6 separate regions of the Homo sapiens genome follow, and all the other regions are linked to region 5. Evidence: promoter capture Hi-C in 16 types of primary human blood cells and fetal thymus (Javierre and others, 2016). All regions are on one chromosome and are shown on one strand. Each heading gives the region's core, a stretch centred on a gene start or on the middle of the fragment in contact. The rest is flanking DNA. Distances are from core to core; before and after follow the strand shown.

Evidence for each region. Contacts are between HindIII fragments. The CHiCAGO score rates a contact against its expected background, and 5 or more counts as called.
Region 1: a fragment that was not itself captured here is called in contact with the fragment with the promoter of RTTN in region 5 in 1 of 17 cell types (total B cells); the score reaches 5.5 in total B cells.
Region 2: a contact is called between a fragment that was not itself captured here and the fragment with the promoter of RTTN in region 5, in 1 of 17 cell types (total B cells). The highest score is 7.4, in total B cells.
Region 3: the fragment with the promoter of SERPINB8 here is called in contact with the fragment with the promoter of RTTN in region 5 in 1 of 17 cell types (total B cells); the score reaches 25.1 in total B cells.
Region 4: a fragment that was not itself captured here is called in contact with the fragment with the promoter of RTTN in region 5 in 1 of 17 cell types (total B cells); the score reaches 8.0 in total B cells.
Region 6: a contact is called between a fragment that was not itself captured here and the fragment with the promoter of RTTN in region 5, in 1 of 17 cell types (total B cells). The highest score is 5.7, in total B cells.

Annotation. Positions count from the first base shown.
Region 1 is chr18:63,427,566-63,431,139 of GRCh38, reverse strand. No RefSeq gene overlaps it. Among named protein-coding and RNA genes, the nearest start is that of VPS4B, 6.9 kb to the right of the region's middle. RefSeq lists an enhancer at 2,824-3,574. The HindIII fragment of the contact is 5,711 bases long and covers 1-3,574 here.
Region 2 is chr18:62,519,839-62,523,215 of GRCh38, reverse strand. It overlaps ZCCHC2 (zinc finger CCHC-type containing 2), which reads right to left and starts at 191. Exons shown (of 14, transcript NM_017742.6): 1 at 1-191. RefSeq lists silencers at 1-297, 328-597, 828-937. The HindIII fragment of the contact is 493 bases long and covers 1,739-2,231 here.
Region 3 is chr18:63,968,215-63,971,557 of GRCh38, reverse strand. It overlaps SERPINB8 (serpin family B member 8), which reads right to left and starts at 1,477. Exons shown (of 7, transcript NM_002640.4): 1 at 1,388-1,477. LOC105372165 (a long non-coding RNA gene) reads left to right here and starts at 1,054. Exons shown (of 3, transcript XR_935576.3): 1 at 1,054-2,235; 2 at 3,285-3,343. It also overlaps a transcript of HMSD not described here. RefSeq lists silencers at 776-995, 1,066-1,125, 1,136-1,335 and enhancers at 809-1,103, 1,396-1,565, 1,596-1,645. The HindIII fragment of the contact is 1,474 bases long and covers 973-2,446 here.
Region 4 is chr18:63,409,054-63,412,848 of GRCh38, reverse strand. VPS4B (vacuolar protein sorting 4 homolog B) reads left to right here. Exons shown (of 11, transcript NM_004869.4): 2 at 1,271-1,382; 3 at 2,403-2,559. Among named protein-coding and RNA genes, the nearest start is that of VPS4B, 12 kb to the left of the region's middle. The HindIII fragment of the contact is 572 bases long and covers 2,124-2,695 here.
Region 5 is chr18:70,203,784-70,207,172 of GRCh38, reverse strand. RTTN (rotatin) reads left to right here and starts at 1,486. Exons shown (of 49, transcript NM_173630.4): 1 at 1,486-1,545; 2 at 1,858-2,045; 3 at 2,910-3,087. The coding sequence starts at 1,515. LOC105372180 (a long non-coding RNA gene) reads right to left here and starts at 1,384. Exons shown (of 3, transcript XR_935599.3): 1 at 599-1,384; 2 at 79-144. RefSeq lists enhancers at 1,087-1,326, 789-1,418, 1,337-1,446, 1,657-1,786. The HindIII fragment of the contact is 5,232 bases long and covers 1-2,968 here.
Region 6 is chr18:62,178,051-62,181,469 of GRCh38, reverse strand. The region is part of intron 1 of PIGN (phosphatidylinositol glycan anchor biosynthesis class N); the gene reads left to right. Among named protein-coding and RNA genes, the nearest start is that of PIGN, 7.3 kb to the left of the region's middle. The HindIII fragment of the contact is 576 bases long and covers 995-1,570 here.

The sequences.
Region 1 (3,574 bases), core at 614-3,113, 6.8 Mb after region 5:
TGAGCATAGCATTTAGAATATGAAATCTTACACATTTCTCTTATGTTAAGAGCAGAATATTAATTTTTCCTATCTCCTTTATAGAGATGTGTTCTGAAATATTACTGTAGCAGATACACCCCAGTAAGTCATACCTCTGTGTAATTTCCTTCTCCTTGAGTGCAGGCAGAACCCGTGACTTGCTTCAAACCAATAGAATATGGCAAAGGTGAAAGGATTTTGTAGATGTAATTAAGGCACCTAAGTAGTTGATTTTGAATTCATCAAAAGGATGATTATCCTCAGTGAGTCCTACCTAGTCAGGTGAGCCCTTTAAAGAGGGTATGAGCTTTCCCTAAAGTAAGAGACTTGAAGCAGCAGAAACTCTGCGTGTGTGTGCATGTGTGTGCGTGTGTGTGTGTGTGTGTGTGTGTGTGTGTGTGGCTTTCAAGAAGCAGGTTATCAGCTGTCATGAATTCTACAGCTCCAGGGAAATGAATTCTGACAACAATCATAGGCAGTTGGAAGCATATCCATCCCTAGTTGAGCCTACTGATGAAAATGCATCCCAGCCTACACCTTGATCTCAGCCTTGTGAGACCTTGAGCACACAACATAGCTAAGCTGGGCCTGGCTTCTCGATCCACAGAAACTGTGAGACAATAAAAGTATGTCGTTTTAAGCCACTGAGTTTGTGCTAATTTGTTATGCAGTAATAGAAAACTAATATAATCATATTTCATGTGTTAAATGATTCTTCATAAGACACTAGAAGGATTTTCTTTAAACTTTGGGAGAATATAAGGATGTCTATTCTTGACACTTTTAACTTTGTATGGGAAAGAGGCAAAGGTATCATTGTTTGCAGAAGTTTTCATCATTTGCCTAGAAACCCTCAGAGAACAGGTAGATGATCTATTAGAAACAAAGTGTCTGCCAAAATCAACCTGCATATATTCATGGTCTCCTGTATATAAACCATAATCTGCTAGAAAATATGGGAAGAAAATATATTACTTGTGATAGCAACAATAGCACAGTGAAATTCCTAGAGATAAATCCAAATCAAATGTTCAGAAACCATGTGAAGAAAAATATAAAACACTGCTAAGAAGCATACAAGAAACCGGGTGCCATGACTCATGCCTATAATCCCAGCACTTTGGGAGGCTGAGGTGGGCAGATCAGGAGGTCAGGAGTTCAAGACCAGCCTCACCAACATGGTGAAACCCCGTCTCTATTAAAAATACAAAAATTAGCCAGGAATGGTGGTGCATGCCTGTAGTCCCAGCTATTCAGGAGGCTGAGGTAGGAGAATAGCTTGAACCAGGGAGGTGGAGGTTGCAGTGAGCCAAGATCACCCCACTGCACTCCAGCCTGGGTGACAGAGCGAGACCTGTCAAAAAAAAAAGCATACAAGAAGACTTGAAGAAAGACGTATCATGATTTTTAAACCTGAGGGAAACTCATTTCTATAACGATGTGTCCATCTACTCTGAATTAATATATCAATTCAATTACAAAATAAATAAATGTTTTAGGTGGAATTTGACAAATAATACTAAAATTCATGTGGAAAAGTAATGTAAGAAAAATCTGAACTATTCTGAAAATTTTTGATAGCAAACATTTAATGAGTGTTAACTATGTTTTGAGCCCAATTCTGTGATGTTCTAATCTCATTTAATTCTCATGTAGCCCCAGTAGACAGAGAGTAATACCACCCCCATTTTACAGATGCAGAAACAGCAGTTTAGAGAGATTGAGTAATTGCCTACTATGTGCTAGAGTCAAGATTCTGAAGGTGGCGTGGTGGCTCATGCCTGTAATCCCAGTACTCTGGGAGGCTGAAGCAGACAGATCACCTGAGGTCAGGATTTCGAGAACAGCCTGGTCAACATGGTGAAGCCCCGTCTCTACTAAAAATACAATATATTAGCTGGGCGTGGTGGCGGGCACCTGTAGTCTCAGCTACTTGGGAGGCTGAGGCAGGAGAATCGCTTGAACCCAGGAGGCAGAGGTTGCAGTGAGCTGAGATCGCATCATTACACTCCAGCCTGGGCAACAAGAGCAAAACTCCATCTCAAAAAATAAAAAATAAAAATTGAAGCAAGCATTCTGATATCAGAAACTGAGCCCTTAACTAGTGTTGCATTCTGCTTAGAAGAAATTGGGCAGTCTCACAAGATACTGAAATGTATTATAAAGCCATTGTAATAAGTTTTGTTGGAGTAAGAATAGGTGGTTAAAAGGAATAGTTAAAACATCATCAAGAATTCAGACAAATCCTTGTGAGAAAATGGTACACAATAAGGGCTGCCCTTTCAAATGAGTGAAGAAAAGATGAATGTTAACTAAATAATATTGGAACAATTGGCTACTCATTTGGAATAAATAAAACACCAAAATAAATTCCAGACAAGTCAAAGATTTAGATGCAATAGTGAAACCCTGAACACACTGGAAGAAGATAAAGGTATGATGTTGTTGTTTTAAATAATCTACTAGTGGGTAAGCTCTTTCTCAACACAGCAAAAAAGAAAAAGAATAATAAATTTTCATGCCAAAAAAGTAATGACCCAAATACTAACAGGTAAAATATGTGCAACACATACAACAGAAGAATACCTTGTTTTATATGCTTTTATAAAGCATATAAATCCATAAATCCACATCCACAGACTCAACCAACTGCAGGTGAAAATATGAGTAAAAAGAAGGCCAGGCACGATGGCTCATGCCTGTAATCCCAGCACTCTGGGAAGCTGAGGCGGGCTGATCACAAGGTCAGGAGTTCGAGACCAGCCTGGCCAATATGGTGAAACCCCGTCTCTACTAAAAAATACAAAAATTAGCTGGGTGTGGTGGTTTGCACCTGTAGTCCCAGCTACTCGGGAGTCTGAGGCAGGAGAATCGCTTGAACCCGGGAAGCAGAGGTTGCAGTGAGCCAAGATCTCGCCACTGCACTGCAGCCTGAGCGACAGAGCAAGACTCTGTCTCAAAAAATAAAAAATAAAATAAAATAAAATAAAAACAAGATGGGCCAGGCACAGTGGCTCACGCCTGTAATCCCCAGCACTTTGGGAGGCCGAGGTGGGCGGATCACCTGAGGTAAGAAGTTCGAGACCAGCCTGGCCAATATGGTGAAACCCCATCTCTACTAAAAACACAAAATTACCAGGGTGCAGCTAAAAAAACTTCTTTCTTCTGTTTTTTTATTCTAGCCTGCAAACTTCTTGAGGGCAGACCCGTCGTCTTTTCTTCTGTGCTAATGCCTTATGTCATGTTCACCCTTATATGACTAGCAATGAGGAATTGCTGCTTCATCCCCACGCCCTCCATCACATGGCTGAATGAATGACATTGATGGGTTGATTCCCACACCTCCTTATCAGTCCACAAGCTGGCTGTGGCTTCATATGAATAAAATGAATAGCAATAAGTGAGAAAGGGCTGGGCCTTCAAGGTAGCTGAGCACATTCAGAAAGGAATGTAACCTGATGGGCTCAACCAGCTTCCTGCCTGACAACTGCCTGAGTCACTTTCATGGGACTCATATGTTTCGGGTCAGGGAGGAAGCTGAAAACTCAACAAG
Region 2 (3,377 bases), core at 736-3,235, 7.7 Mb after region 5:
GGGCGTGCCCGCGACGGCTCCTCCCCCTGGGCTCCTCGCCGGTTCTGGGAGCCCGGGTGCGGGTGGGAGCAAGCGAGCGAGGGTGTCCTCCTTCCGCCTCCCTCTCTCCGCCGTCCGCGCTGAGCCGGGGCGGCGGTGCCTGAGCTGTTCCCTCGCGAGCCGGTGAGGACGGAGCGGCTGGGTGAGGAGGTGGAGCAGCCGGGCCGGGCGGAGAAGCTTGCGGGCTCCGCGCACCTCACCTCCGCCAATCAGCACCGCGAATCGACGGTGACGTCGCTCTCCCCGCCCCCTGGGGGGCCGCCTTTCTCCAGGAAGCCACGCCCAACTGCTGGCCGGCCGCCTCCCTCTCGGCGGCTTCCGTGCGGTCCTAAAGGCTGGTGCTCGGCAGGAGGAGGACGCGGGCTGGGGCCGTGGGGCGGCGTGAGGGTAGCCCGGGAGCGGTGAGGAGCGTGCGAGGCCCACGTGAGCGGAGGGACGCGGCCGCTCTCACCTTTCCTGAGGGCCCTGGCCCGGCTTTGGACTCCTGATTCTCCTCTGCTTGCCAGCTGCCGCCCCGCCTCCGCCAGTGGTGCCCGGGCTGCCTGCGCGGCCGGAGTGAACGCGTCCCGGGAGCAGGGGTTTCTCCGAAGTGAGTGCGCCAGCCCCGGGACGAGCTCGTTCGAGTCCTCACCGCCCAGTGCACTTCCTGAAAGCCGGCGGTGGGCTGTCTCCCACCTTGTGAAACTTTGCCAGGTGTCGCTCACAGGGGACTGGGTCCGGACGCGGGTGGCGGCGCTGGTTTGCGGCCCCGGTTTGCGGCCCCGGCGCCGCGATCCCGGGCCGCGCCCACGCCCAGGCTGGAGGCACCGTGCGCAGGTGGGGACGCGCGGCCGGGAGGTGCGCAGCGGGACCCGGCCGGCCGAGGGTGAGCGCTGCTGGGGACGCTCCTAGTCTGTAACGCTCTGTGAAAATTATTTCCTGGATAGTTTAGGAAAAGCCTCTCCCTTCCCCGCCCCTAAACCTCTATCTTTTGGGAATCATTGATTTGCTAAATGACATTTCGGTGCCTAACCCATTTTGAATCCTTGTTCTGCTGTGAATTTCATGTGACTGGAGGAATTTAATAAGCTACCAACTTGACAGGCTTTAAACTTAAAAAAAAAAAGTTTTGTTACGTTTTTCAGATTTAGGCTTCCAAGATGTTTACACTCGCACTGTTACTTTTTTTTTTTTTTTTTTTTTTTTTTAGCAACATAGTCCAAATTTTTAAAACTCAGCTGGATCTTTTGAGGGTTAATTAAAAGGTGGGTTAAAAAAAATCTTAAGACTTTAAATTTAGAAGTCCTACTACAGCTATGTAGTAGGAGTATGCAGAAAGATAAGAATCACATTGTAACTCTTTGCGGTGGTGCTGGAACATCTGTTGGGAGAGCATATGCTGAACTCTGTTCACCTCACAAGTTTATGTCCTAAGAGGCTCATTCACAGTTCAGTAAAAGGGTGAACTGAAGCCTGAATCAGTTTCGGGGATGAAAGGGTGAGAGGGAGAACTGTTTTCAGCACATTTGAGGTTGGCAAAATATATAAAAGTCACTCTTTCTTGTAATTTGCTAGTTCTTTACAGTCTTTAGATGTAATTTACAGCCAAGAAAACTTTATTATGAGGACTTATACGTCATTGCCCTTTTTTGCTGTCACCCTCAACTACCCTGGGATCTTCTACTCATATCTCATCTCCTGTTCCCACTTTTCTAAAGCTTAGGGTGAAATACTTAGGCAACTAGTAATAATATTAATCTTGCTAGATATTCACAGGTTCATAGTGAGCCAGCTGTCTAGATCTGGATATCTAGTGAGCAAATAAATTCTTTACCTCCGAGTTGATTTTTGTTTTATTGATCGATTGACACAGTCTTGCTCTGTCACCCAGGCTGGAGCACAGGCTCAAGCAGATCCTCCTGCCTCAGCCTCTCAAGTAGCTGGGACCACAGGCACGTGACACCACACCTGGCTAATTGTTTGTATTTTTTTGTAGAGACAGAGTCTCACCATGTTGCCCAGGCTGGCAAATTGAGTTTTATATGTGACGCAGTCAAAGGGGCATTTTCCTTGGCAATAAGAAGCCATTTGATATGAACTCTCCACAATAGTTGATGCATACATTTTATACCAGAATTCAAATTTGTAATCAATAATGATTACTTGGGTGTTTATAGCTTTGGCCAACATTAAACAATATAGTGATCAAAGCTTATACACATAAGTGACATATACCATGATTTAATGATTTTGGTTATCCATCAGCTGGACAATTTGTTGTTTATCTCCGTCTCTGCATACTGCAGCTCACAAGGAGGCCTCAATGTTTTTTCCATGTTACCATAAGTGAGAGAACACATTCAGTAAGAGTGAAAAAACGCTAGTGCTTTTGAGGGAGGGGCCCCGATGGAAGTCCCACTGTGACATGTGAGTTTTTAAGCTGGGAAAACTACCCTGATGATTCTAGTAAGACTCCCTAGAAAGGGATTCCTCTTAGCCAGCCTACCTGTTGAGAACACCTGCTCTAGATTTTCTGATTTTTTTTTGTATTCCCTGCATAATCAAATCATGTGGGCCAGATAACATTATTGTGATAGTGGTGAGTGTGTGGTTTGTATCCAAATATTTTATAAAGAAATATATCTTGTAACAAAAACCAGGACACAAAGTATTATTGTCTCTTGTCCCCAGATGATATATATATTTTTAACTTCCCATACTACACTGATGTACCTAGATGATGTTTAATGCACATTCAGTATATTGTTTTATTTGCCTTTTTAATAGTGAAAGGTGTCATTATTCATATACCATGCCATACCGTAATATAGCTGGTATTATTGTCCAAGTATTTATATGTAACCAGAAAACTGATTCCAAGTGAAGGTTTGGATGAAGGCACTAGTGACGGAGGAGGCTTTTCAACCCTCCTTTTTGCAGCTGGGTTGCTGCAAGACATTTCACCAAAACCTCAGATAACTGGGTGGTTCAGGGCAGCCTGATACACTAAAATATATCAACTATAAAAAGGATGCCCAGATACGTCCACTTCTACTTCAGATATCCTGAAACAGGCAGTCTGATTCATATCAAGAATTTGTTCCCTATGAGACCCCTCTCCCACTACACCTCCCTGTTTCCTCCATTAGAATATAAATATCTTGAAGTCACTGACCATGTTTTATTCAATGTTATGTTTTCTCATCTGGCACACAGTAGATGTTCATCCATATTTGTTGAATAAATGAATGAATGAATGAATGAACAGTGCTCCCGTAACAAAAAGTAAAGGCCAGAAACTCTTGGGTCACCTGGAACCTTGTTCCTACCTACCAGGGAAAAGAAAACATGTCTCAGCA
Region 3 (3,343 bases), core at 228-2,727, 6.2 Mb after region 5:
CAGGAGGGCCCAGTCCCGAGGCGCCTAGCTGTTATAAATTCATACTCAGGGTGGGTCGTGAACCACTGGAATTTTAAATGAGGAGTCAGGCTGGAATGGGGAATATGACTTGTTCCATTTGAGATGCGTGGAACACACCATACCAGGTGAACCTGTAACAAAGACAGCCAAGGATGTTTGTAAACAGTTAGGGACGGGGATGAGTAGACTGTCTAGAGCCAGAGACCTGGAGCCATCAGCATCCCGATTCCGAGAGGTTCCATGAGAATGGATGAAACTACACAGAACATCTAGTGGAGGCACAAGGGAAGAAATCCACCTATTTCTGTGGAATTTCCAATATCTGGAGGTAGTAAAAGGAAGAGACAGAGGAGGGCGAGGGGAGAGCGCGCGCGCGAAACGGAGACTGAGACCCAGCCATCAGGGTGTGCTGGGAGAACTGGGGAGACGAGTCTGCCCCTGCGAGTGGACCCAGGGAAGAGGGCGCGGTCTACGCAGAGCCCGAGGCAGGGAAGCGGGAGGGGCCCGGAGAGCAGCCCTGGGTGAGGCCCTTTGGAATGGAGAGGTCTCAGGAGTGAAGCAGCAGCCAGAGGACTGAGAGTGTCTGGAAAGTGAGGAATTGGTTAAAGTAACGCCGGTGGCTGCAACAGAGAGGGGCGTAGGTGAAGAAGCACCCCCAACCCCATCCCATTTGAGAGGAAGCAGACAATGAAGAAGAGAATATGAAAGATACAGAAAGATGAAGGCAGGGGTGGAAAGAACGGAGGGGGGGGACAGGAAGGGAAGGAGAAGGTGCAACCAATAGGCTGTAAGCACAGGGGCAAGCTTGGGCGCCAGGGGAGCAGGGACTCGGCGCCTCCCCGATCTGCCCCAGGCGCCACGGAAATTCCAGGCCCCGCCACCCGCACTCCCGGAGCCTCCTCCGCAGCGGCGGCTCCTCCCACTCGCCCTCCCGGGGCTCCCGCCCAAGCTTCCGGCGCTTCCAAACTCACTGCTCGCGTCACCCCCCGCTCCCATCCGGCAGCAAATCACAGCGCAGCAAATCGCAAGCCTAGAAACAGACGCTCCCTCTCCAGGGGCAGCTTCCTATTCAGGGCGGGTCTGGGCGCACCTGTTCTCGGGACCCGGCCCTCGGCCTTCGCCGGGTCTCGCGGTGGGGCTTGGGACCCCGGCTGGTGCCAGGGCGACCCCCACAGCCCCGCGACTCTCTTTCCCGGCCGCCTCCCGCCGTCATTCTCCTAGTTCCTGCCCGCCTTTGCCTCGCTCTGATTCCTGCTCTGGCCTTCCTCCCTTCCCCTCTCTCACGCACTCCAGGGAAGAGGTGGCCTCCGCGGGAACCTGGGCACCTCCGTGCCTGCCCCGCCCGGTACCTGGCAGAGGCCCCCACCTCCTGCTGCTGCTGCTGCTGCCGCCGCCGCCGCCGCCGCTGCTGCTTTGACTATTCCTCCTTTGTAGATGCTTCACGTCCGCCTTGATTGAGGGCAAGGCTTCCGGCAGATGACTCAGAACCGTTCGATTGCTCTGGCTTGTGCAATCCCTGATTCTTTGGGCCTGTGTGGATGTCTGTGGGCACCGGAGAGAGGGCCAGTGCCTGGTCCTTGGAGGGTGGTTTTTATAAAAAGTGTACACATTGGCTATTGTCCTTTTTTCACCGTTGATTCACGTTTGACTCCACTGTAGTTAGACGTCCACCCAAACATTCTCTGAAATTGCTCCTGATAAGGATACTAATCATTTTCTAATTGCCTTGGCCAAAAAATACATCCCAGGTCTTATTTCATTTTGTTTGTTGGCGACATTTAGCCCTTTCTTCTTTGACCTTCCCAGGATTTCCAGAGCACCCTTCCCTTCTTTCCTGACTCCTTTGCTTGGTATCCTGATTCCTTTCCTACCATTCTAAGCCCTCTTCTTTTCATTATAATATGATCTTCTTGTATGACCTCCACTATATCCATAGGTTCATGTTTCAACTTTTAACTTATTTCTTCAAAATCTCTAACCTGTCTCGAGCCGTAGATGTTACCTGTGTACTACTGGACATCTCTCAGAAACCTGGGTGTGTCCCTCCGCAGTTCTTTTAACTAAATGATCAACAGTCCTGTTACTTCTATCACTTTTGTGTTCCTCCTGTCCATACTCTGTCACCTCTATCATGTCTCATGTCTCTCCTAAACAATTAATTTTCCTACCTACAGTTCTGATCCATGCCAACCTATTGCCTACTCTGAAGTTCAGGTAAACATTCCAATTCTAATTATTTTATACCTCAGTTTAAAATCCTTTATAACATCCTCTTATCCAAAAAGATAAATTAGAAACTATTGAGCAAGGAGTGTAAGCCTCTTCACGTCTTGATTTCTCCCTTCTTTTCTTTAGAGCCATAGCAAATTATTTACATTCCTTCATATCCTCTGTTCATATACATGGGGTTCCTGGCATGCAAGCTTGTCTTTCAAAATTCAGTTCAAATAATGTCTCCTGCAGGAAGCTCTCACAGAGCTCTCCAGTTTGGGAATTCTGCTTTTAAAGATGCACATTCCCACTCTGCACCCCAAACCAATTAAGTAAAGATCTCTTGGAGGAGGGAACCCAGCAGCAGTATTTTGTAAAACTCGCTCAGTGATTTCCCTGTGGAATCCTAAAAGTAACTGTTCCCAAGAACTCTCCTCAATAAGTCTTGGTGCAGGATTCACCCCCATCTTTTCTCCATGACTTTGAAACCCCTCTCTCTAGTGGCTACAGACTCACATTTGAACTGTGCCCAAACTTACCGGCTCTGCCAGTTGAAAATGCCAAGGTCACTTCCCCATTGTGCATCAATTTCTCCTTGTTGGTCAGAACTAGATCCAGACTTTGGGCCCCACTTTGTCCATCCACTCCTTTTCCTCTTTGACCAGCAAAACAGATTAAAAGATGAAAAATGCTTGTTTTCCTCCGTGAAACTTCCAGCAAATGCCTGGTGGTTTGAAGTCCTTTACAAAGGATATAATTTGGCCCCTGGGAGTTTGGTTGTAAACACAGATATCCCATGTAGGAAACACAGTGCGTGCAGGTGCAAAGAGGCACAAGATAGCACCATGAAAACCATGACGTATCCAGGCCTGCAGTGGTACAGATAGTGTGGATGAGGCACTGCAAGACAACGTCTGATGTGTCCACAGGGCCATGTCGTGAAGGCCATGTGGACGCTGTTGGTGGTGTTTCTTCGTTCCCTTGTGGACTATGGGGAAACACAAAAGGATTTTAAGCTGGGGAGAAACATAATCATATTTGTATTTACGAAGGTCCCTCTGGCTGCAACATGGAGTATATTGTAGGAGGGTACCATTGCCTGCAGTGAGGC
Region 4 (3,795 bases), core at 1,160-3,659, 6.8 Mb after region 5:
CCATGTTTTTTCTAAAAGTTTTAGCTGGGTGCGGTGGTGTGGACTTGTGATCCTGCTATTTGGGGAGGCTGATGCAGGATGATCACCTGAGCCCAGGAGTTTGAGGCTAGCTTGGTCGACATAGTGAGATGGAGCCCCGTCTCAACAAATAAATAAGAATCAAAGTTTTGTAGTTTTACATTTAATTCTATGATCCATTTTTGAGTTAATTTTTGTAGGAAGTATTAAGTTTAAGTCAGAATTCTTTTAGGTGTATGCTTATGGATGTCTAGTTCCTCTAGCACCACTTCTTAAAAAGCCTGACTCGGTGCCATTGACTGGCTTTTTGCATCATTTTCAAAAATCTCTTGGCTTTATTAGTATGGATTTATTTCTGGGACTTTTTAAAAAAATGCCACAAAAGTAGTCCATGTTCCTTATGGACATTTTTTAGAAGATGTGAAAAAGTAGAAAATGAAAAATATATGTTTTATCAAAGATAAACTCTGTTTAACAATTTCCTTCCCATCTTTTTCCTGTGCTGCTTTTTTCTGCTGTTGTTTCAAATAAATTCCTGCTACATATAAAAAGTTGTGTCCTGCTTTTTAAAAATGCCCATTATTAACACTTTCCATATTATTACAAATATTTCTTAATGTTATTTTAGTGATCCTTTGGTGTTCTGTTTTGTGGCATCCTTTATGATTTAAGTTTCCAGGTTTTGTTTTTGTTATTTAAAAGACCTCTCTGATAATATCTGTGCTCAGTAAACCTTTTAGTTAATTACTGGATTGAAATATATGAGTATTTTTCAGATTCTTGATATTTCATTGCCCCATTGCTTCTGAAGAGGTTTCACCCCATTTACATTTCCACTATTGTTATATCTTTTAGATTAAAGCAGCATTTAATTTTTGAGAATTTCTCTAAATGCTTGTTTAGTTTGAATTTTCACATTCTATTATTTCTTATTAGCCCTAAATTTAACTTTAGCTAAGTGAAAATTACATGTAAATGTTAGCGATTGGTACTAAAGTAACATTCAGTAGCATTTATTCCTATAACATGTAATTTGCATCTTTTCAACTTGTAATTTATAATAAAATACAGTTGTGAGTTAGAAAAAAATGATTTTTTAGTTACTGTTTATTTTTTACTTATTTTTGTTTTCTTTCACAGCCCAGCAAGCTGAGAAGCTTTAAAAAAAAAAAAAACTTTCAGTATGATTATTTACTTCAAATTTATGTTTATGCTTTGATTTAAATGTTGTTATTTTGCCTCCCTCAAACAGAAAGCGATAGATCTGGCTAGCAAAGCAGCGCAAGAAGACAAGGCTGGGAACTACGAAGAAGCCCTTCAGCTCTATCAGCATGCTGTGCAGTATTTTCTTCATGTCGTTAAATGTGAGGCCATAGGTTATATTTTATTTAAAAACACGAAAAGGAAAATTTATTCTGTTTCATTTCTAAAAAATTGAAATATAATGCCAGACAATTCTAAACGATCCATTTGTTAAAAAAAAAAAATACTCCACTTTCTTTCTAGTGATTTTTAAGTATTGAGATGTAGCTAGCAAATGTGACAGCCATCATAGTTATTACTTTGTATATGTAAACATCTTAAAATGTAGTCTAGTCAGTGGAAAATAGGTTAGGAGACATTCTATTTGTGTCTTTACAGATATGTATTGCGTGTGTACCACGTGGCAGGCACTGGGGATACAATGGAAAGAAATGGTTAAGACCCCTGCCCTCATAGCTCTTAAATGGAATGCAGTTAGATGATTGAAGATGTTCTTTTGAGCTTCTCCCATTTAGTTCTGAGGTTTTATGTTAAAGTGAGACTAAGAATGAGTCATAACCTGTAAGCTATGTGGGGCTCATCCCATCTATTGCACGTGTTGCCAAAGTTCACTTTGAAAACAGCTCTGACAGAGGCCTTTGTGTAGTAAAATTTACGATGTTGGTATTACACAGAATATATGGGATTTCCATCACTTTACTCTTCTGAAATAAAGCTTTTGTAGACATTCATAGAAATGATTAATACTGCTTTCCTTCTATTTGTCTTTTTTATAATTGGGTTTGTCTAAGACAAGCAACTTTGAACTATCTGCAAAAATGTAAGGGAAAAATATGAAAGCTTCAGAATATTAAATAATTTCCTGTTAGTTAACATTAACTTAATATACCCTGCTGTCTTGCTTAGGTTGTTTCTGATTCAGACCCACTGTTGGTCTCCAACCCTGCTGGAGGAAGGGGTAGAAAAGAGGTGATAATCATTGGCTATGATGAGTTAGAGATGATCTTCCCTCCTTCTTCCAACATAGAATTTCCTTGTCTGAAAAAATACATATTTAAGAGTTCAAACCTTTCTACATAGAATACTAATGGAAAAAAATCTCTCTCATTTCCCTTTAATAGATGAAGCACAGGGTGATAAAGCCAAGCAAAGTATCAGGGCAAAGTGTACAGAATATCTTGATAGAGCAGAAAAACTAAAGGAGTACCTGAAAAATAAAGAGAAAAAAGCACAGAAGCCAGTGAAAGAAGGACAGCCGAGTCCAGCAGATGAGAAGGGGTACGTGTTTAAAATTGTTCAATTTTATTGTGGCTTTTTGCTTTCGATTTGTGAAATTTCTTTTGATTAAAACAGGTGTCAGCAAACTATGGCTCATGGGCCAAAGCTGCCCAGCTGCCTGTTTTTGGAATAAGCTTTATCAGAACACAGCCGTGCCCATTCTTTTACATATTGTTGTCTAGGGCTGCTTTCGTGCCGTAACAACAAAGTTGTGTGGTTGTGTGGAGACCGTATGGCCCACGAAACCTAAAATATTTACTTGTTTGGTCCTTTACAAAAAAAAGTTTGCTGACCCCTAGTTTGCCAAGTTGAATGGATAATATTCCTCAAACAACCCTTCCTGACTGCCTGCTAGTAGGAGGAGAGAATGCTTGTAGGAATAGTACTCAGTTACTCTCTGGCCATTAGCTAATATGGAAGCTTAAGGTTATAGGAGTGACCAGAGAGTTAAACCTTTGACCACATGGAAAAAATGAAAAGTAACTCCAACAATGTAAATTTTTTTTGGATATCTTATGCAAAATTTTTTGATGTGAATTTGTGTTAGATTTGCTTTATGTTGTCATTGTAAAGAAAACAACACAGCATAACTTATAAACGTTGAAACTGATTTTTGGCATGTCTTCCTAGATGGGGGATGTATCACTTCTAGATGCAGAATTTGTTTATTCAGTACATGACATATGCGTGCCAAGTTTGTGCTCAGCACTGGGAACATATTCTAACCACATCCTCTCTGGCTGTCCTATTAATTGATGCCAGTAGTTCCAGGTAACACACCCTTAAGAAAATGAGACTCTGGGATGGAGTTATCTGGCCTGCTTGGGTTTGAAAACAGCGAGATTCTGCTCAGCTTTAGAGGATGTGGTTCTCATTGTTCATGGTATGCAGTGGCGCAGGTTATTTAGACAATACCCTGTGGTCACAAGGAATGAAGTGCCTTTTAGGCAGTGCTTTGGGGCTTCGTGGCTGCTACCACAGACCATTTGGAAGTACATGAGGAATATAAGAACCAGTGTTGACTTGGCTGCTTCAAACTATGTGGCAGAGTTTGAAGGAAATGATAAGCTTAAGCTCAAGGTTTTATATTCTCTGTTCAAGATGTGATCGGGGAACCAGGGAGTTTCTGTGACACCCTAAGAACATGTTATCTTCTTCATCGATAGCACTGACTTAACAAAAATCAGATGATAGTCTGATCTTACAAATTACTGAATTCCAACTTAGGGTTTCTTA
Region 5 (3,389 bases), core at 237-2,736:
TTCTTGCCTTTGCAAATACAGGTTTCTCCTGCAGGAATTTCCTTACCCAACTTCTTTGTGTGGCAAACTCCTACTTACTCTTTAAGATCCAACTCAAATATCATCACTCTCCTATTGACACACATGAGGAGGCAGCAAGGCACTCTAAATAGAACAAAGAAACATCAGGTCAGCTCCTCAATCTGTCACTTACTAGTTAATGTGACTTTGTGTGGGGGTACTTTTGTGATTCTAAGTTTCCTCTTTGGCAAAATAGGAATGGGAATACAGTAGGCCTTTGCTGTCCACTGGTTGCACACAGAGAATTCAACACACGGGATGGAAAATATTCGGGAAAAAACCCCACAGTTGAAAATAACAATACAACAATTAAAAAATAATATGAATAAAAGTACAGTGTAACAACTATTTACATAGCATTTACAGTGTATTAGGTATTGTAAGCAATCTAGAGATGATTTAAAGCATATAGGAGGATGTGTGTAGGTTATATGCAAATACTACACCATTTTATAAAAGAGACTTAAGCATGGGTGGATTTGGGTATCTGCGGGGGTCCTGGAACCAATTACCTAGGGATACCGAGGGCCCACTTTACCTGCCTTGACATCCCTTTCCCAGGGAACGTGAAATGATCAGACCGAGAAAATGCAAATCATTTTCCAAATGTAATTTTGTTGTTGTTCTTACCGCTGCTTATAATTAAAAAAAAAATAATTTGCTCAGCTCGATCACTGTGCACGGTGCAAAAAATCAACTTTGGTACCATTCAGCAAATCATACCCCCACGTCCCGCCTTTATTTTCCTTTTTTGCAGCCCGGTTTCTCTCTTCTGCTCACTCATACCCGCCCACCCCGCTTTTGTAGCTTGCTTGTTCATATCTGAACTTGGGTATCCAAAGACACTGCTTGACTTTGCAGGTACATTTCACAGTTAAAGAGGGTTCGTCATTTAGTAGTCGGGGATGGGGAGAACTGTCACAAAGCAAAAGTCTACATTCTAAATCGTGAAGTTCTGGGAGCTGAGAATCAGATTGGCAGGGCCAAGAACGAATCCGTCGACGAGCCGGGAGGCGGGGCTCCTGCTGGGGCCTCTGCAGCCCGCGCTGGGTTCCCGAATTCCCGCGCTGTAAGCCGGAACCCCAGGCCAGCGGGCGCCGCGGCGGGCCCGGAGATCGGTGCAGGACGCACGGCCTAGCCAGAACTACAACTCCCGACGTGCGCGGCGGCCAACGCTGGTTCTATCCCTGCTTGTTGCTTTTTTTTTTCCCTCCGCTTCTTGCGACGGAGACTGCTGTCCAGGAAGTGCGCAGTAGTGATTCTAGAGAGGCTGGAAGCTCTCCTGGCGACGCTGGGGCCGCGAAGGGCTCACGTAATGACTCCTACTCCTGGTGAGCGCAGGCGTTGCGGAACTCACCGTCCCACAGGACGTGTTTCCGGGGGTACATTAATTGTGGCTGGACGCAGTGGCGCGGCAGTTTAATTCTCCGGCGGCTGCAGATTGACGGGACGAGATGGTCCTGGCAGGGCTCATCAGGAAACTCGGTAACTGTCAGCTTGCCCCTCGCCCAAGGCACCCCCCGCGCTCTGGCCACTTGCTGAGAATGGTCGTGTCACGTTTCCGCGGCCGGCCGCTCCGCGACCGCTCCCTCTTTCACCCCCGCTTTGTCAGGATAGCCCCCGGGGACCCATCTCGGACTTTGTGTAAACTTCGCGGTTCGCGTCCCGAAGGCACCAGTGGCCTGCTTCTGAAAAAAACTGGTTTATTCCGTCTTCACGCCGCTCCTGCCCACAGCATAAATAACGTAGTCTCTTTGCAGTCGGGAAATAAAATAGTTTTGTGCCGTTCGTTGACAGGTCATCAGCTGGCCGAGATCAGGGAGCGCGCTCTCAAGAGTATTCTCTGCAAGATTGAGCACAACTTAATCTGCTACGCTGATCTCATTCAGGAGAGGCAACTTTTTCTTCATTTGCTGGAATGGTTCAATTTCCCGTCCGTTCCGATGAAGGAAGAGGTTCTGAACCTGTTAAGCAGATTGGTTAAGGTAGGGTCATTTTGAAATAAAGAAAATAATCAGACGAGTGACTTGTTTCTTAGTCATTTAATTGTAGCGTTTATTGAAAGTTAAATAATTGGGGTTAAAAGTTTTTTTAATCAACCAGAGATGTTTAATTTTAATTAATCTGGGTATATGGTTCATCTTTTATTTGTGATACTGAATCCCACATGGTCTCTGCTGTGCTCAGAAGTAACACAGAACTTCTTTTGAGTTTTGGTATGTTCTGTGTTTTTGAGTTATCTTTGGAGGTTAATATTTGTATTCTGTTTTTGTTTTCTGACATTTACATCTTAAAAACTAGATATGTCAGTATGAAAGGGAGCACTTTAAAAATAATGTTACATAACCGTGATTCATAAATACCAATGTTAAGTTGCTTGCCCATATGCTTTTAGATTGGTATTCTTATGCCTACCTCAAGAGTAGTTAGTTATCGGGGTCAGATATCAAAGTGTAAGTTTAACCTTTCAAAACTAAATCACTGTACAATGGTAGAGGAATCTTAAACTACTTTGACATCCTGTTGACCGGTTGGGGCTGGGACCATAAGGTGAGTGTCAGTGGAAAAAAGTAACCCATTAAAAAAATAAGAGTAGGGATTGATAATGTGCATTTCTAGCGTTCAGTGTGTTGGCTCATCTTTCATAAATGTTATCAAGTGTTGGATGTATGTCTCTATAGGTGTATGTGCTCCTCATGGAAGTGCCTTACTTCGGGGCAGAGCCATGAAGGATTTGTTTTTCAGAAAAGGAACATCTGATATACCAAAAATAATTTTATGTTTTGATTGCTGTAAGTTATAGAGATTTTGATACAGTTATTCTCAAGATCATCCTCTTCTTATTTTAGTATCCCCCAGCAGTCCAACATTTGGTTGACGTTGGTGCAGTAGAGTTCTTATCTAAGCTTCGGTCTAATGTGGAGCCAAATCTGCAGGCTGAAATTGATGGCATTCTGGATGGACTTTTTCTTCTTCCTTCGGAAGTTCCTGCACTATCTTCTGCCTCATACCAAACCAATCAAACTGGTAACTCTTTGGAATCTGTTAAATACAAATATATTAATTCTAATGGTAAATTTTAAGGAAAGGGAGATTAGATTTTTTTAAAAAGGATTTCTCCCACCTCCCCCAAACTTATTTTTCTTGTGTTAACTTACATGATTTTGACCTTTTTCCCCTCCTCTACTGTTAGTCAAAGGATGGTACATTTGCATTAATTGCTTTTTGGGTCAGGCCTAAACGATGCCAGTGACTTTGCTTTTATGAGGCCAGTTTGACAGATTATTTTTTTGGCAATAACAATGTATTTTTATTGAGCACATGAGTGC
Region 6 (3,419 bases), core at 33-2,532, 8.0 Mb after region 5:
AAATAGCTATTAGATTTTGCACTGTTAACTGTCTTTACTTTCTTATGAAGTAATGACAATAAGGTTTAAGTTGTTTGAGATTTAGGTGGTCAGGAAAAAAAAGAGGTCACATTCAGCCTTTTCAAGAAGTTTGACTGTGTTGGGGAGAAAAGGGCAATAGATGTTTAAAATTTTTTTTATTAATACTGATATTTATGAGATGTATCCTTTTCAGAAATATGGTATTTCATTATGAATAAACAATTTATCTGTTCCCTATGGTTAGATATTGTTTCCAATTTTTTATTATTACAAATAGCAAAAGCCAAGATTTGAATGTAAAGGTTTAAAACCTTTTTCTTTCTGATGTGTAATTTTATCATAGTAAATTCTACACTAGTAGCAGTACTAATACTTGTGAGCTGGTTAAAAACATAAGCTGATGTCTACCTCACACCATATACAAATAATTATTTTTGTTTCAGAGGACACAAACCAACACAAATAAATTTTAAATAATGAAAGGTAAAAAACAAAAATCTAAAACTATTAGAAGAATATATGTGACATAAGAACCAGGAAAGTTTTCTTCTATAGTACAAGACACAAAAAACTCACACCAGAAAGGATAAATGTTTGACAAATTTTACTGTATTAAAGTTGAAAAATTTATTTTAACAAAAGGCCCTATGAACAACATTTATATATAAATGTGTATATCTAGCTATGTATAAACATACACACACTATATAAACATACACACACATATAATTGTAATGTACAAGTCAAATAAAAGGTCAATAACCCTAATCCTATCTGATCAAAGGATATGAATAGGCAGTTGAAAGGAAGAGAGACCCAATTGGCCAATAAAAACATGAAAAAATTTTCATACTCACTAGTAATCAGGCAAATACATATTCAAATAACAGGATGCCAATTTGGCCTGTTCAAATTGTCTTAAGGTAAATATGACAGTATCAAGCAATTAGGGGGATTTAGAGATATAGAAGCTTTCGTACATTGCTGGAGAGTATGTAAATTAGTATGGACACTTTGCCAGTCACTTGTAAAGTTGAAAATTTTGTTTATTAGAGCAATTCCACTTATAGAGGTGGCTTTCAATCTTATTGGTCCATAGAATAATTTAAAATAAAACTTTCAGTACAGGTTATGTACATGCAAGAATATTGATGCGTGGATACACAGGAAAAAAACACACTTTTTCAAAATAATCATGTACTACTTCTGAAGTACTTTGTGATGTGATATATTCTATATTTTATCCAATCCTATTGTACTGTATTCTATTTCATTTTTTAAAAAAAGGAAAGAAGGCTAATTGCAGTCCATGAAATTATTTTGTTATGGGTCACTACTCTACAGTTTGTAAAAATTCTAAAAATCTCCACCTTTACCATAAGAGAGCAGCTTAATTGCCATATTATTTGTAATCATGACAACTGCGAGTGATGTTGATCAGCAGGATAGTGTTCAATTAAATTGTAATAGAGTCATATAATAGAATATAGGTCTTGAATGTTTGAGATCATTTATAAGGCTTTTTTGGTAGTACTGATTAGAATAAGCTTATAAAAGAAATAATGGCTTTGCATCTATACTGGTAAAAATTAATTTCAAGTAAGGTGGGGAAAGCAGGAGTGGAAATGATGATGATTATAATATTAATGTAATCTTGTAGAATGACAGATGGCTTTTATTTATGTATGTATTTATTTATTTTGAGACAGGGTCTCACTTTGTCACCCAGGCTGGAGTGCAGTGGCGTGATCTCAGCTCACTGGCAGCCTCGATCTCCGGGGTTCAAGCAATCCTCCTGCCTCAGCCCCACAAGTAGCTGGGACTACAGGCATGTGCCACCATGCCTGACTAATTTTTTTGCATTTTTTGTAGAGATGGGGTTTCACCACATTGCCCAGGCTGGTCTCAAACTCCTGAGCTCAAGTGATCCACCTGCCTTGGCCTCATAAAGTGCTAGGATTACAGGTGTGAGCCATCAGGCCTGACCGACAGATGGCTTTTAATTACACAATTGACTGGGTTTAACATATATACTCTTCATACAGAAGAACATCAATTTATGTAGGTGCCTCGTCATCTCAGGAGGTGGAGTGTAACTCCTCACTCTTTAAGTGTTGGCTGCACGTAGTGACTTCCTACCAAAAACTATAGTATGAAATGGGGGAACATTTACATGGAGAAACTTTACAGTGAACTTTACAGAGGACAAACTGAACAAACCGCCTCAGCCAAGTGGTCAAGTTTTATATTAACAGTTTAGTAAGTCATGTTGACAGTACCCTTAATGTGATGTGAAGAAAATGGTACTTTATGTATGTATGTTTCCTCTCCTGAACCCATAACCCCAGACTTACCATGAGAAAAACATCAGATAAATCCCAATAGCAAGACATTATACAAAATCTCTGACCAGTACTCCTCAAAACTCACAAGGTCATCAAAACAAGCAAAGTCTGAGAAATTATCACAGCCAAGAGAAGCCTAAGGAGATATGGTGACTAGCTGCCCTGTGGTATCCTGGTAGAGTTTCTGGAACAGAAAAAGGATGTGAGATACAGATAAAAGATTTTGAACTCAAGTGGGCAGGAATCATCTAAAGAACTAATAACCTCTAGTCTACTTGCCATGAGAAAATTTGAAAATTAGTTCTCATATGGGATTTTGTAAAGTCACATAGAGTTTACAATTAAAAATGACATAAATCTTGATGAAAAAATATATACCCCAGAATAATAAGCAAATGAACTAGTGCTAATTATATGGCTTAATAGTTTATCTGATAATCTTGTGTGCAGGCTCCAAGTACTATCTTACAGTTTTTCTTTCCTCTTCTTCTTTTTTTTTTTTTAAGTGGGTCTTGCTATGTTCCCAGGCTAGCCTTGAATTCCTAGGCTCAAGCAATCCTCTCGCCTCACCCTCCTAAGTAGCTGGGACTACCAGCTCTGTCTTACAGTTTTGGCTGGTTTTACTTCACATCGTAGGTTTGTGTATTTTTAGTAAATGTTGAAGTGGTTAAGAACACAATCTCTAGGTGACATTACCGAAAATGGCAGAGTACGGTGGTTTATTATAAGGGTTAGTTCCTCCACTGAAACAAGCATAAGGGGGCAGAGTGACAGGATCAACTGTTTTGGGATTCTAAAATCTGGTCTGACATTTACAGCAACCAGGAGACTGCATAATGAAGAAGAGGGCAGCTGAATTTCAGAGTGCTGTGGCATTTAATCCACTGGATTACCATCCTCATTCACCATTGTGGCAATGGCAGCAGCTGTGGGGACTATGGCCCACATTTCTGGTGTGACTTGCTTGTATTTAGTATGGACTTTGTTCTTAAAATACTGTGGTTGTGCATTTTGATCTGTCTAGTGGTTTCCTGAGTGACCAATGTAGAGGCT